Regions from separate parts of the Homo sapiens genome. Here all the other regions are linked to region 1. The links are contacts of gene promoters, found by promoter capture Hi-C in blood cells and fetal thymus (Javierre and others, 2016). All regions are on one chromosome and are shown on one strand. The core of a region is centred on a gene start or on the middle of the fragment in contact, and the rest is flanking DNA. Distances in the headings are between cores, read along the strand shown.

What was found. The method cuts DNA at HindIII sites, captures the fragments that hold promoters and counts their contacts. A CHiCAGO score of 5 or more calls a contact.
Region 2: the fragment with the promoter of ZNF324 here is called in contact with the fragment with the promoter of ZIK1 in region 1 in 4 of 17 cell types (total CD4 T cells, total CD8 T cells, total B cells and 1 more); the score reaches 8.0 in total CD4 T cells.
Region 3: a fragment that was not itself captured here is called in contact with the fragment with the promoter of ZIK1 in region 1 in 1 of 17 cell types (non-activated CD4 T cells); the score reaches 5.3 in non-activated CD4 T cells.

The regions. Positions count from the first base shown.
Region 1 is chr19:57,582,261-57,585,973 of GRCh38, reverse strand. It overlaps ZIK1 (zinc finger protein interacting with K protein 1), which reads right to left and starts at 1,829. Exons shown (of 4, transcript NM_001010879.4): 1 at 1,585-1,829; 2 at 984-1,022. The coding sequence starts at 1,617. RefSeq lists enhancers at 1,993-2,092, 1,789-2,320. The HindIII fragment of the contact is 4,281 bases long and covers 871-3,713 here.
Region 2 is chr19:58,465,219-58,468,931 of GRCh38, reverse strand. It overlaps ZNF324 (zinc finger protein 324), which reads right to left and starts at 1,852. Exons shown (of 4, transcript NM_014347.3): 1 at 1,749-1,852. RefSeq lists enhancers at 352-471, 890-1,504, 1,505-2,121 and silencers at 1,603-1,732, 1,813-1,862. The HindIII fragment of the contact is 6,014 bases long and covers 1-3,713 here.
Region 3 is chr19:58,199,793-58,203,505 of GRCh38, reverse strand. All of the region lies in intron 4 of ZNF274 (zinc finger protein 274), which reads right to left. Among named protein-coding and RNA genes, the nearest start is that of ZNF274, 19 kb to the right of the region's middle. The HindIII fragment of the contact is 4,047 bases long and covers 1-3,713 here.

The DNA of each region.
Region 1 (3,713 bases), core at 580-3,079:
ATCACCTGAGGTCAGGAGTTTGAGACCAGCCTGGCCAACATGGTGAAACCCTGTCTCTACTAAAGATACAAAAAAAAAAAAAAAAAAAAATTCGCTGGGCATGGTAGCACGGTAGCATGTGCCTGTAGTCCCAACTACTCAGGAGGCTGAGGCAGGAGGATTGCTTGAACCCGGGAGGTGGAGGTTGCAAAGAGCCAAGATCGAGCCACTGCACTCCAGCCTGAGTGACAGAGTGAGACTGTCTAAAAATAGACAAATAAATAAATAAAATAAAAATAAAATCAATCCTATAACATGCTATTTGATGGAGATTCCATCCTTCCAGATGCTAAATTCAAAATGCCTGGAGTAATGCTTGACCAGTATCTCTTACCCTCAAAATCTGAAAATGCAAGCAGGCCTAATTAAAATTCTGACCCAGAATCCAGCCACTTCTTCTACCTTCACAGCCACCACACTGGTGAAGCCACTATCAAAACTCACCTTGGCCACTGCAGTAGCCTCCTCCCTGGTCTTTCTATCGCCTCCATCACACCCACAGAGTATTCTCTATGCTGCATTAACAGTGAACCTGATGAGACCAGTGTCAGATAACCTCCGTTCTCTTCTCTAAACCTCCCATTGTTCTCATCACCTCCAGAAAAAACACCCAATTTCTCAGAGCCATTCCAGGCCTGAGTCCTGCCCTGCTGCTCTGAGTTCCCATGAGAAAGAAAGGAGAGTTGTGTTTCCCTGAATCAGCTCAGCTTCACTGCCAACCTTACACATTATTGTACGTAGGCGGGGCAACCTTTCACACCTCATTCCATTGTCTGCCAGCAATAAGAACGTCTACAAATAACCACCAGTCTAGAATCAGGATGTCAAGCTTCCAGTTTGTGAAGAGTCCTTAGGTCAAAGAACTGGATGGTGGCAAAAAGATCCATGAAAAAACCCCAGGATGGGGCCAGGACCAGTGAGGGCCTGGGACACCCTCCACTCACCTTTGTGAGGTCCATATGTGTTTCTGGAGACACAGTAACCTGTGGAAAGCCAAAGATCATGAAAGGCAGGTGACCATACAGGGCTCTACGGATTCAGGCTTCCCTGGATTCCTGTCCAGGCCAGAGCCAGGTGGACTGAGGATGCCTGCATTATTTCTGAGCCTCAGCGTTCCAGTCCTCAGTGCCAACTCTTAGCAACTGTGGGACCTTGCACAAGAACTCAACCTCCCTGTGCCTCTGTGTTATTCCATTCTATTCTAGTCTAACTCCATGAGGTTTTTGGAAAACTTCGAAAGACCTAACTCAGACCATATGCCGCTTCTGTACACAACCCTCCACGGCTCCTAGCATCCTAAGAATTGAGGGAAAACTCCTCACCTTGGCACTCCAGGTATGAACCTTCTTCACTGTGTCTCCAAGAGTTTAGAAACGCTGGTCCCTTTGCCTGTAACCCTCTTCCGTGCCCCATCACCCAAGTTCTGGAAATAGGGACCCCACCCACGAGCCCCCACTGTACTGGACATGAGGATCTCGACCGTAGTGACCCAAGAAGGCACTAATTTGGGGATGGAGGGTGAGGCCCAGTAGAGGCAGCGCTCACCTGAGTCGGGGCCCTCAGCGCGGCCGCAGCCATCGGAGTCTGTGGGCAGAGCGGGGCCGGGACCCGACAGCTACGGGCGGAGGGACCTAGGCAAAGCCGTCAACCCCGCCGCCGCCGACCCTTAGAACCCCCACTGTTCAGCGGGAGGACCCCTCCCCTCGCGCCTTCCGACTGTCGCCAAACAAAGCGCTCCCAAAGCTCTGACGGTCTGGATGCACCCAAGCGCTGCAAAAATGACCGCCACTGAAGTGATACCGGAAGTCCCTCCCCGACCCATTGGTCCCAAAGCGGAAACGACCCTTTTCTCAGCGCGGATTGGCTCAGCATCCCTGCGGCTGGAGACAAAACCTTCTGGGTTCTGTAGTCCCCGCTGGTCCCCAGGGCTGAGGGAAGGATGCTGCCGCCCAGCGTCACCTCAAACAAAAGCCAAGCGGCCGCGCTGGGGGCGCAGGGAAATGGCGTCGCCACAATGCAGGAGAGGGCTGGGCCTTGTCGCTCCTTAAACAGGCCGCTGGTCGATTTCTGTGGTCCCGTCGCGGCTGAGCGCCCACGTGATTAGAAGCATTGATTCAGGCTCAGGAAGCTGAGGCCAGATCCACACCGACGCGTATTCCATACGTATTCGACGCTCCTGCGGGAGCAAAGGAGCCTCGTGCCCCTCCCTTGCGGGGTCAAGGCGTTCGAGGCCGTGCCGGGGCCAAGGCTATTCTGTGAAAGGAGCGACTTAGGTGTCGCGCTGTGGGCACGTGTCCCGGGAGGCCACGTGGGGGCCGCGCCCCCGGCTGCTCCTGCTCTGACCTGAGCCCTTTGACTGTACCCAGAGGCGGGAGGCGGGGCCGAGACGTCCCATGGGAAGGGGTTCTCCGTAGCTCCACCCCGGGGGACGTCTCCTCCAGGGGGGCCGGGCGAGCTGGGAAGGCCCCAGAGCCGCCGAGGAAAGCGCCTCTGCTTCCCTGAGTCCCCTCCTGGGTCTAGGAGCCGTTCCTGCGTTTTCTGACGCCCTCTCCACCGCCCCTCGGCTGAGAACTGGGTCCAGATGAGCCTTGGACCCCGTTGAAGACGTCTCCTACCTCATCTCCCACACCTGCTGGGACCATCTCCAACCGCCCTCAGGGCAGTAGGGAGGTAGGCGGGTTCCCAGGGCACCCCAAGCGGTGGCGTACAGTGGTAGGAACAAGGCCTCTGGAGCCCAAGAATGGGATTTAGTCCCCGAGGGGAAGTCCATGCTCTGCCTTACAGCGGCTGGTATGGGCTTCTGGGGGCACCCTGAGACTCGGCCTGTAGGGATACTCATAATGGCCTCCATGAAGGTGCAGGTTTAACCACTGGACCAGTCTCATCTGGCCATCCTCTGTTGGTAACATAATGTCCAGTTATTTTGCAGGCACAGAGCTAAAGAGTTGCAAGTTACACAGCTAGAGAATGTGCAGAAAAGAAAATGTCAGGCCCAGCGCGGTGGCTCACACCTGTAATCCAAGCACATTGGGAGGCTGAGGTGGAAGGACCACTTGGGCAACATAGCCAGACCCCGTCTCTACAAAAACTAAAAAATTACCCGAGTATGGTGGTGCACCTGTAATCCTAGCTACTCAGGATGCTGAGGTGGGAGTATCGCTTGAGCCCAGGAGATCACGGTTACAGTGAGTTATGATTATGCCACTGCACTCCAGCCTGGGCAACGGAGCCAGACCCTGTCTCAATAAATAAATAAGTAAATAAATAAATAAATAAAAAGAAAAGAGAAAAGAAAACATTGACCCAACACTCGGAGCTGAAGTCTCACCTACCAGACTCCACCCTGTCACCACAGGAAACCAAAATATCAGGCTATGGCTGGAACCCAAGTGCTGAAACACTTCCGAAAGCAAGGGGTCTGTTGTCTCTGAATGTTGGGTGATAACAACCCCATCCCCGCCTTGCCATCAATAGATTTGTTTGAAGTCCTTCCAATCAAAATCCACCCTTCCAGTGCTTACCAACCTGTCCTTCCTAATCCTTAAAAGCTGCCCCAAACCCCATATTGGGGAGACAGATTTGAGCTGGACTCCTGTCTTCTTGTTTGTCGACTTGCAATAAAGGTTTGCTTTTCTCAAAAACCTGGTGCCATGGCATTGGCTTCTGTGTGCGTC
Region 2 (3,713 bases), core at 603-3,102, 880 kb before region 1:
AGGTATGGCTGTGAGCCAGGACCAAGCTCCCCATCCCAACAGCCACCTTCCATGATGTCCCTCAGACACTCACCCTCCTTCCCTGGGTTCTGCCCCCACCATCTTCAGATGGCACTTCCCTCACATGTCTGGGACCCCTCCCCTCTGCCCTCCCTGACCAGACCCCAGATGCCTTCTTGGCCTCCCCACTGGCAACGCCATACACAAGCAAGCTAGAACAAGTCCTGGCTGGGCCCTCAGCTGCCACACCAAGAGCAGCCCCAGGTGTCCACTCGTGACTCAGCATGACCACTCATGACCCTCCCCAGATGCACCCTTCCTGCTCTTGTAGCAAGAAACTGTGAGTCCCAGCAGGGGCTTCCCAGGCATACCCATCACTGGGACCCTCCCCTGCTGAGCCTGCTTGCCTGACATTTCCAGGCTGCTCATCCAGCCTGAGGGACTGGATGATTCTCACCAGTCGCCACAGGGGAGCAGCCTCAACAACCTGTGAACACAGAGGAACTCAATCCCTTCCTCCTTTCACCCGGTGTCCCCTTTCTTCCCCTCTCTGTTGCCACCCTCCCCTCCTCAGTTAGGTGCTAGGCTCTTCCCAATAGCCCCAGGCATCCCAGCTGGTCTTCTTTACCCTCAAGCCATAACTGCCCACACCTGGCTGAGTCCCTGCCCATTCCTCAGTCCAATTCATAGGCCCTGTCCACAGCCCAGGACGCCAACAACGTCAGGTCCAGTGACATGACCAACCTGGGACATCCCAGACTCTTGATCTTTCCCCTGAAGGAAACCTGCTTTCCTTTCAATTCTCCTTTCTATCTACAGCAGCTCTCTTCTTCCAGGCGCTCAGGCTGAACAACATGGGGTACTTAGTTCTTCAAACAGCCCACACCTGATGCATCCGCAGATCCACCAGAATTCACCTGGTCGCCCACCTCCACTGCTGCCCAGACTGTGGCAGTCGGTTCTTCCCTTCATGCCGACACCCCTGCATGTCTGTTCTCCACGCAACAAACGGTGGAACCGTTTTAAAGTCCTCAGAGGATGTCCTGATTCTGTTCAAAACTTCTATGTCTCCCGACGCCCTCGAGATAAAGCCCACTCCCTCGCCTGATACTGCAGCCGCACACATCCCCTCTACTCCAGCTCCACATCGAGAGAGCTCAGTCCCAGAAGCACCTGGGCTTCGGCTCCCCTCCCAGGTTTTGCACACGCAGGACTCTCCCCTCGGAGCCTCCTTCGGGACCTCAGCCCCCTGGCTGCCCGAACTCGGGAGCTCACCAGTGCCCTGGACGCAGGAGTTTGCACTGACCCCCGCAACCCCCCCAGGGCAGGGAGAGGAAAGACGACTAGGCGAGGTCTAGGAAGCGGCCTCCCTCCGTGAGGGCGCGGTCTGTGTGAGCAGGGACTCCCCTGCTTCCCCGACGCGGGCTTGTCAGCGCCACCGCCGCCAGCGGAACCCGCAGCTGGGAGGGAAGAAAGGCGTGGACCACCCAGCCTTTCCCCGCCAGCAGCGTCCCGGGGCCGCCCCGCGCCTCAGTCTCCCCGGCCATCATGGACGTGGAACGCCCAGCGCGCAGCCTCCTGGGCTGCCGCACGGTGGGAGAGCGCATGGCTCCCGCCGCGGCCCGACAGTCCCCTGGACGCCCACGACGCACTCTGAGAAACAGAGGCTTGGGGGCGCGGCCGGCGGCCGGCGCCCTTGATCACGACGCGTGCGCAGGGCGGGCCCGACGCGGGCCCTCAGCCAGTACCTTCCTCGCCGCCAGCCTCGAGCACCAGGAACCCCCTGGAAACCGGACCCGACCCGCGGTCCCCAGCCCAGACCACCGGTGTGGCCTGACGCGGGCGGCGAAGTGACAGTCCCACCGCCGGAAGTCCAGCCCTTCGGTTCTCATTGGCCCAGTGCGCGCCGCGGACGCTTGCGTACAGCCTTCCGGGTCACGTGGTTCCCGCCTGTTTCCCTGCGTGGAGGCGGGGCCACTACCGGTCTCCTTGGCAACGTCCAAGCCCCTGCCGCGCGGGGCGCTGGGAAATGGAGTCGCGCGGCGGCCTCGGGTTTTCAAGGGCTTGGTGGCGCTGGTGGATTCGCCCGGTGTGTAGTCCTGCCTTCGGCATTCCAGGTGTCCTCCCAAGCAGTCCCGGAGACTAAACCCTGCAGGTGCGAAAGCAGAAACTGCCGAGGTTCCAAGAGGCAACACCAGCAGTGAGCACGGAGGAGAAAATGCACCGGGTAGCGCAGGTGGAGGTGGAGGAGCCGATGCCTGGAGCTCCGGGTTCCCTTCCCAGCTCTGCCTCTCACTGACTGTGCGTCCTGGGCGCGGGTTTGACCTCTCTGTGTCAATGTCCCGTAAAGGTTTAAGGTCCGTTTTCAACCTTTACACCAAGAATTCTCAGCCCGTAAGCCTACATTTGTCTTAAGTATGAGACTGTTCCTCGACACTTGCCCAAAGCATCTGTTTTCCTTGTAATTTGGATGGGCAGAAGTTAATTCCCCAGATTTGCTTGTCCTTAGACCATCTAGATCTTGTCTTGCCCCACACATCACAATATTCATTCTTTTTTCCTTTTTTCTTGGGACTCATTTAAGTTTTTTTTTTTTTTTTTTAACAGGGTCTTTGTTCTGTTGCCCGTGCTGGAGTGCAGTGGCACAATCTCGGCTCACTGCAACCTCTGCCTTCAGGTTCAAGTGATCCCCCCGCCTCAGCCTCCGTAGTAGCTGGGACCACAGGTGTGCGCCACCATGCCTGGCTAATTTTTGTATTTTTTAGTAGAGATGGAGTTTCACCATGTTGGCCAGGCTGGTCTTGAACTCCTGACCTCAGGTGATCCGCCCACCTCGTTCTCCCAAAGTGCTGGGATTACAGGCCAATTTAAGTGTCTTTGACACATAAAAACGAAAGGCAGAGCAGTCTCAATGTAGACTGTCTTGTTTGGCAGATAATAAAAGGTTCTTTGTCTTGTTTTTGGAACCTGTAGACAGTTCTCAGCTGTCCAGTTCCTTAACTCTTTTTGCCTCCCTCCCTCTATACCTACCTCCATCTATAACTATCTCTCTGTCAACTGTCAGCTATAACTGTCCACCTAATTGATTCTACTTGTAAATCCTTGTAGAGCAAGGGAGCTCATCATGTTTGGAATGTTTTAATATAAATTTTGCTACTTTGAAAGAATTTAAGAACATTTCAGGACTGGGCGCAGTGGCTCACACCTGGAATCTGAGCACTTTGGGTGGCCAAGGTGAGCGATCACTGGAGCCTAGGAGTTTGAGACCAGCCTGAGCAACAAAATGTGACCCCATCTTTATAAAAAAATATAAAAATTAGCTGAGCATGGTCTTGCATGCCTGTAATACCAGCTACATGGGAGGCTGAGGTGGGAGGATTGAGTTCAGGAGTTGGAGTGTGCAGTGAGCTATGATGGAGCCCCTGCACTCCAGCCTGGGTAAGAGAGAGACCCTGTCTCAGGAAAAAACAAACAAAAACCCTGAGGGGGAAAAAAAAAACCCCAACACTTAGAAGTATTAAAGTTCAGGGCCGGGCGCGGTGGCTCACGCCTGTAATCCCAGCACTTTGGGAGGCCGAGGCGGGTGGATCATGAGGTCAGGAGATCGAGACCATCCTGGCTAACAAGGTGAAACCCCATCTCTACTAAAAATACAAAAAATTAGCCGGGCGCGGTGGCGGGCGCCTGTAGTCCCAGCTACTGGGGAGGCTGAG
Region 3 (3,713 bases), core at 507-3,006, 620 kb before region 1:
CCCGGGTTCAAGCAATTCTCCTGCCTCAGCCGCAGCTGGGATTACAGGCGCCCACCGCCAGGCCCAGCTAATTTTTGTATTTTTAGTAGAGACAGGGTTTCGCCATCTTGGCCAGGCTGGTCTCGAACTCCTCACCTCAGGTGATCCGTCCATCTCGGCCTCCCAAAGTGCTGGGATTACAGGTGTGAGCCACCGTGCCCAGCCCAATTACAGCTCTTAAGGCTTGAATTTTTCCTGAGAAGCAGCTGGGGATAAGATTTACTGGAGGCCCAGCAGCACCGGACTAAGTGCCTAGGACATGGGACATGCACCAACTGAATCTGTACTTCCTGGGGGGGGGCTAAGTGGCAGACCAGCACTGGGCCACCAGTACTATTTTAGGTAACCATGCATGACACTTAAACATCTTAAACGTTACTTCATAAATTTCTAAAATTTCATTTTTGTATTCCTTAATCGAGGGATTTTCATGCCTTGGCCCCTAGGAAAACAACTGTTGGATTCTTCTACTCCACCCCACCCCTTTCTAATGTACTTACTTCTGCTTTAATCTTTATTATTAACCCATGAGGCCCCACACTCTGTTCTGTACACAGTTATCATAAAGCACCTTTTGCATGCTGTGGAACCAAGGACACCACAGTGAACAGAGAGACCACAAACCCAGAAACTGGTGAGGAAGTGATGGACTCATTCTGTGCACCTCAGTCCTCCAAATGTCAACCCATAGACTATCCCAAGACCTTTAGGGCAATCCTTACCACTGTCTATTGCAGGAAATTAGCTGCTCCACTTCATGGAGGAGAAAATGGAAGCTCTTAAGTTCACCACCAGGCAGAGGTGGAACTGGATTCTCATTCCACCCATCTCATTCCACAGACATGACTGACCCAACCCACTCATGTGGAGCTGCATAATCCCTATCAGCTGGAGCTCCAAATGGCTTTCAGTCCAGCAACTGAATGAGCCCGTAGCAATGTAGTCACCTCACCTACAACTGTCTGTCTAATGGGTTGTGAAACAAATTCACTGAGGCTCAAAGCAAGGGGTTTAATCAAGAGAGATTAACTTCTTGAGCCTGAGTTTCTTCACCCAAAGTGATGAGATACCAAAGTCCAGGCACAGCATGTGGTAAGGGCTTGATGGGAGCTGCTGCTTTCTCCCTCTTGACACTATTTTCTTCTCTCAGGATACTTCTACCTCTCTGCTGCTTCCCTTCCAGGGTGACAAACAGGCCTTAGGCAGCTGTCTTCCTCACAGTGCTGTTTGCCAGTGAATGCTGATTAGCCAGGTATACCAGTCCAAAATATAACGAAAAGCAATGATCTTTTTAGCAGCTTGTGGGGGAAAAGTCAGAAGAGTACTTACCCTCAGCTCCCCTAATCCCTGGGCACAGTACCCCATCACTTTTCCTCCTTGTCTGGAAAGCTCTCAGCTCTCCTGTTCTCTCTCATCATTCCCTCAGTGCCCCTAAGCTCCCTGTTGGATTACCTTCTGCATCTGTCTCCTCCAGTGTACCACTGAGGCTGCCAACTGGGACTTGTGGATCTCACACCCCTAAGTAGAGGATCTGCCAAAGGCTGCTGATCATCTTTACGTTACTCAGTTTTTGAATCAATGACAGTACCATCATTTCACGAAGGCTGCCCACAGTCCCAGGAAGCAAATGTACACCATACACAAAAGAAATATGCCTGGTGCGGTGACTCATGCCTGTAATCCCAGCACTTTGGGAGGCCGAGGTGGGCAGATCACAAGGTCAGGAGTTTGAGACCAGCCTGGCCAATATGGTGAAACCCCGTCTCTACTAAAAACACAAAAGTTAGCTAGGCGAGGTGGCGGGCACCTGTAGTCCCAGCTACCTGGGAGGCTGAGGCAGGAGAATCACTTGAACCCAGGAGGTGGAGGTTACAGTGAGCTAAGATCACACCACTGCACTCCAGCCTGGGCGACAGTGCAAGACTCCATCTCAGAAAGAAAAAAAAAAAAAAGAAATTCATGCTGGGATAGGCTAGGAACCCTGCCCAGGGTTGCAGAGTGGATGATCCGGTTTGGTTCTGTGTCCCTACCAAATCTCAGGTTGAAAAGTGATGCTGTGTTGGAGGTGGGGCCTGGTGAACCTTCAAGAATGGCTTAGCACCATCCTCCTGGTGGTTAAGTTAATCACACGAGATCTGGTTGTTTAAAAAAGTGTGGCCGGGCAGAATGGCTCACGCCTGTAATCCCAGCACCTTGGGAGGCTGAGGTAGGTGGTTCGCTTGAGCCCAGGAGTTCTAGACCGGCCTGGGCAACATGGCAAAACCCCATCTCCACAAAAAAAAAAAAAAAAAAAAATTAGCCAGGCGTAGCGGCATGTGCCTGTAGTCCTGGCTACTCAGGAAGCTGAGGTGGGAGAATCGCTTGAACTCAGGAAGTCGAGGCTGCAGTGGGTCATGATCGCACCACTGTACTACCGCCTAGGTGAGAGTGAGACCGTGTCTCCAAAAAAAAAAACAAAACAAACAAACAACAGTATGCGGCACCTTCTTCCTCTCTCTGGCTGCTGCTTTTCCCATGATGTGCCTGCTCCCTGCCTTCCACCATGAGTAAAAAGCTCCCTGAGGCCTCCCCAGAAGCCAACCAGATGCCAGTGCCACCCTTGTACAGCCTGCAGAACTGTGAGCCAATTAAATCTCTTATCTTCATAAATAACCCAGTCTCAGGTATTTACAGCAATTTAAGAACGGCCTAACATAGTGGGCAACAAAGGAGCCGGGTTCCAAACCCTGTTATTTCATGTCCTTGACGCTAAAGGGGTCTCCCACAGCCACCATCTTAGTTTTCCTAGAATATGGCCTTTCATCCAGAGATCCACATGTGCACCACCCTCCTGCCTGGTATAGTCTTCCCCAACATCTTCGCCTGGTTCACCTTCCCCAACATCTTCACCTGGTTCGCCTTTCCCATTCAGGTCTGAGCTCAAACGTCACCTCCTCAGAACCATCTTCCTACTTAGTTCTGAACTACTGCTGCCCACCCGTACCTCGCTTGTCCCCCACCAATGTATCCCATTGTTTCCTTCTCTTTCCAACACTCATTACCATCCCAAATATCTGATTCATTAATTTATCATGTCTATCACCCTATCTAGAGCAGTGCTGTCCAATGGAACTTTCTATAAATGAGATGTTCTAGATCTGTACTGTCCAACATAGTAGCATTAGCTGCAGGGCCAATGAGCAGTTGAAAGGTGCCCAGTGCAATTGAGGTACTGAATGGGCAACTTCATTTTTGTTGATCCAATCAGCCATGGAATGGATGTAGGCCCAATGAAAGCAGGTGTAAGACCTGCCCCACTCATCACTGTGATCCAGCCCTGGAACAGTACCTGGAATCCTGGCAAGTGCTCAAGTAATATTTGTTGATTCAACACAGCTTCTTTGCAACATGAAAGCACACATAGTTTGCACCCCACTTGCTTCTTCTCAGCCAAGCCCATGTCAGGGACTTGTATTTCTGGTCCCATGGTAAAATGGCCCCAGCAGCATTTCTCCAGAGGTTGATGGCTAGAATGACTTCAGGACTCAGGAAAAGGACATCAGTACTTCTAGCCTTTTTAAGCCCTCAAAATAAGTTAATACTTCTATTTATCAAGTCTTCCACACTCCAGCACTTACAACTTTCTTCAAATAGGTCCTGCTCATTCTTTAATAATTTATTCTTTGGTATAACTT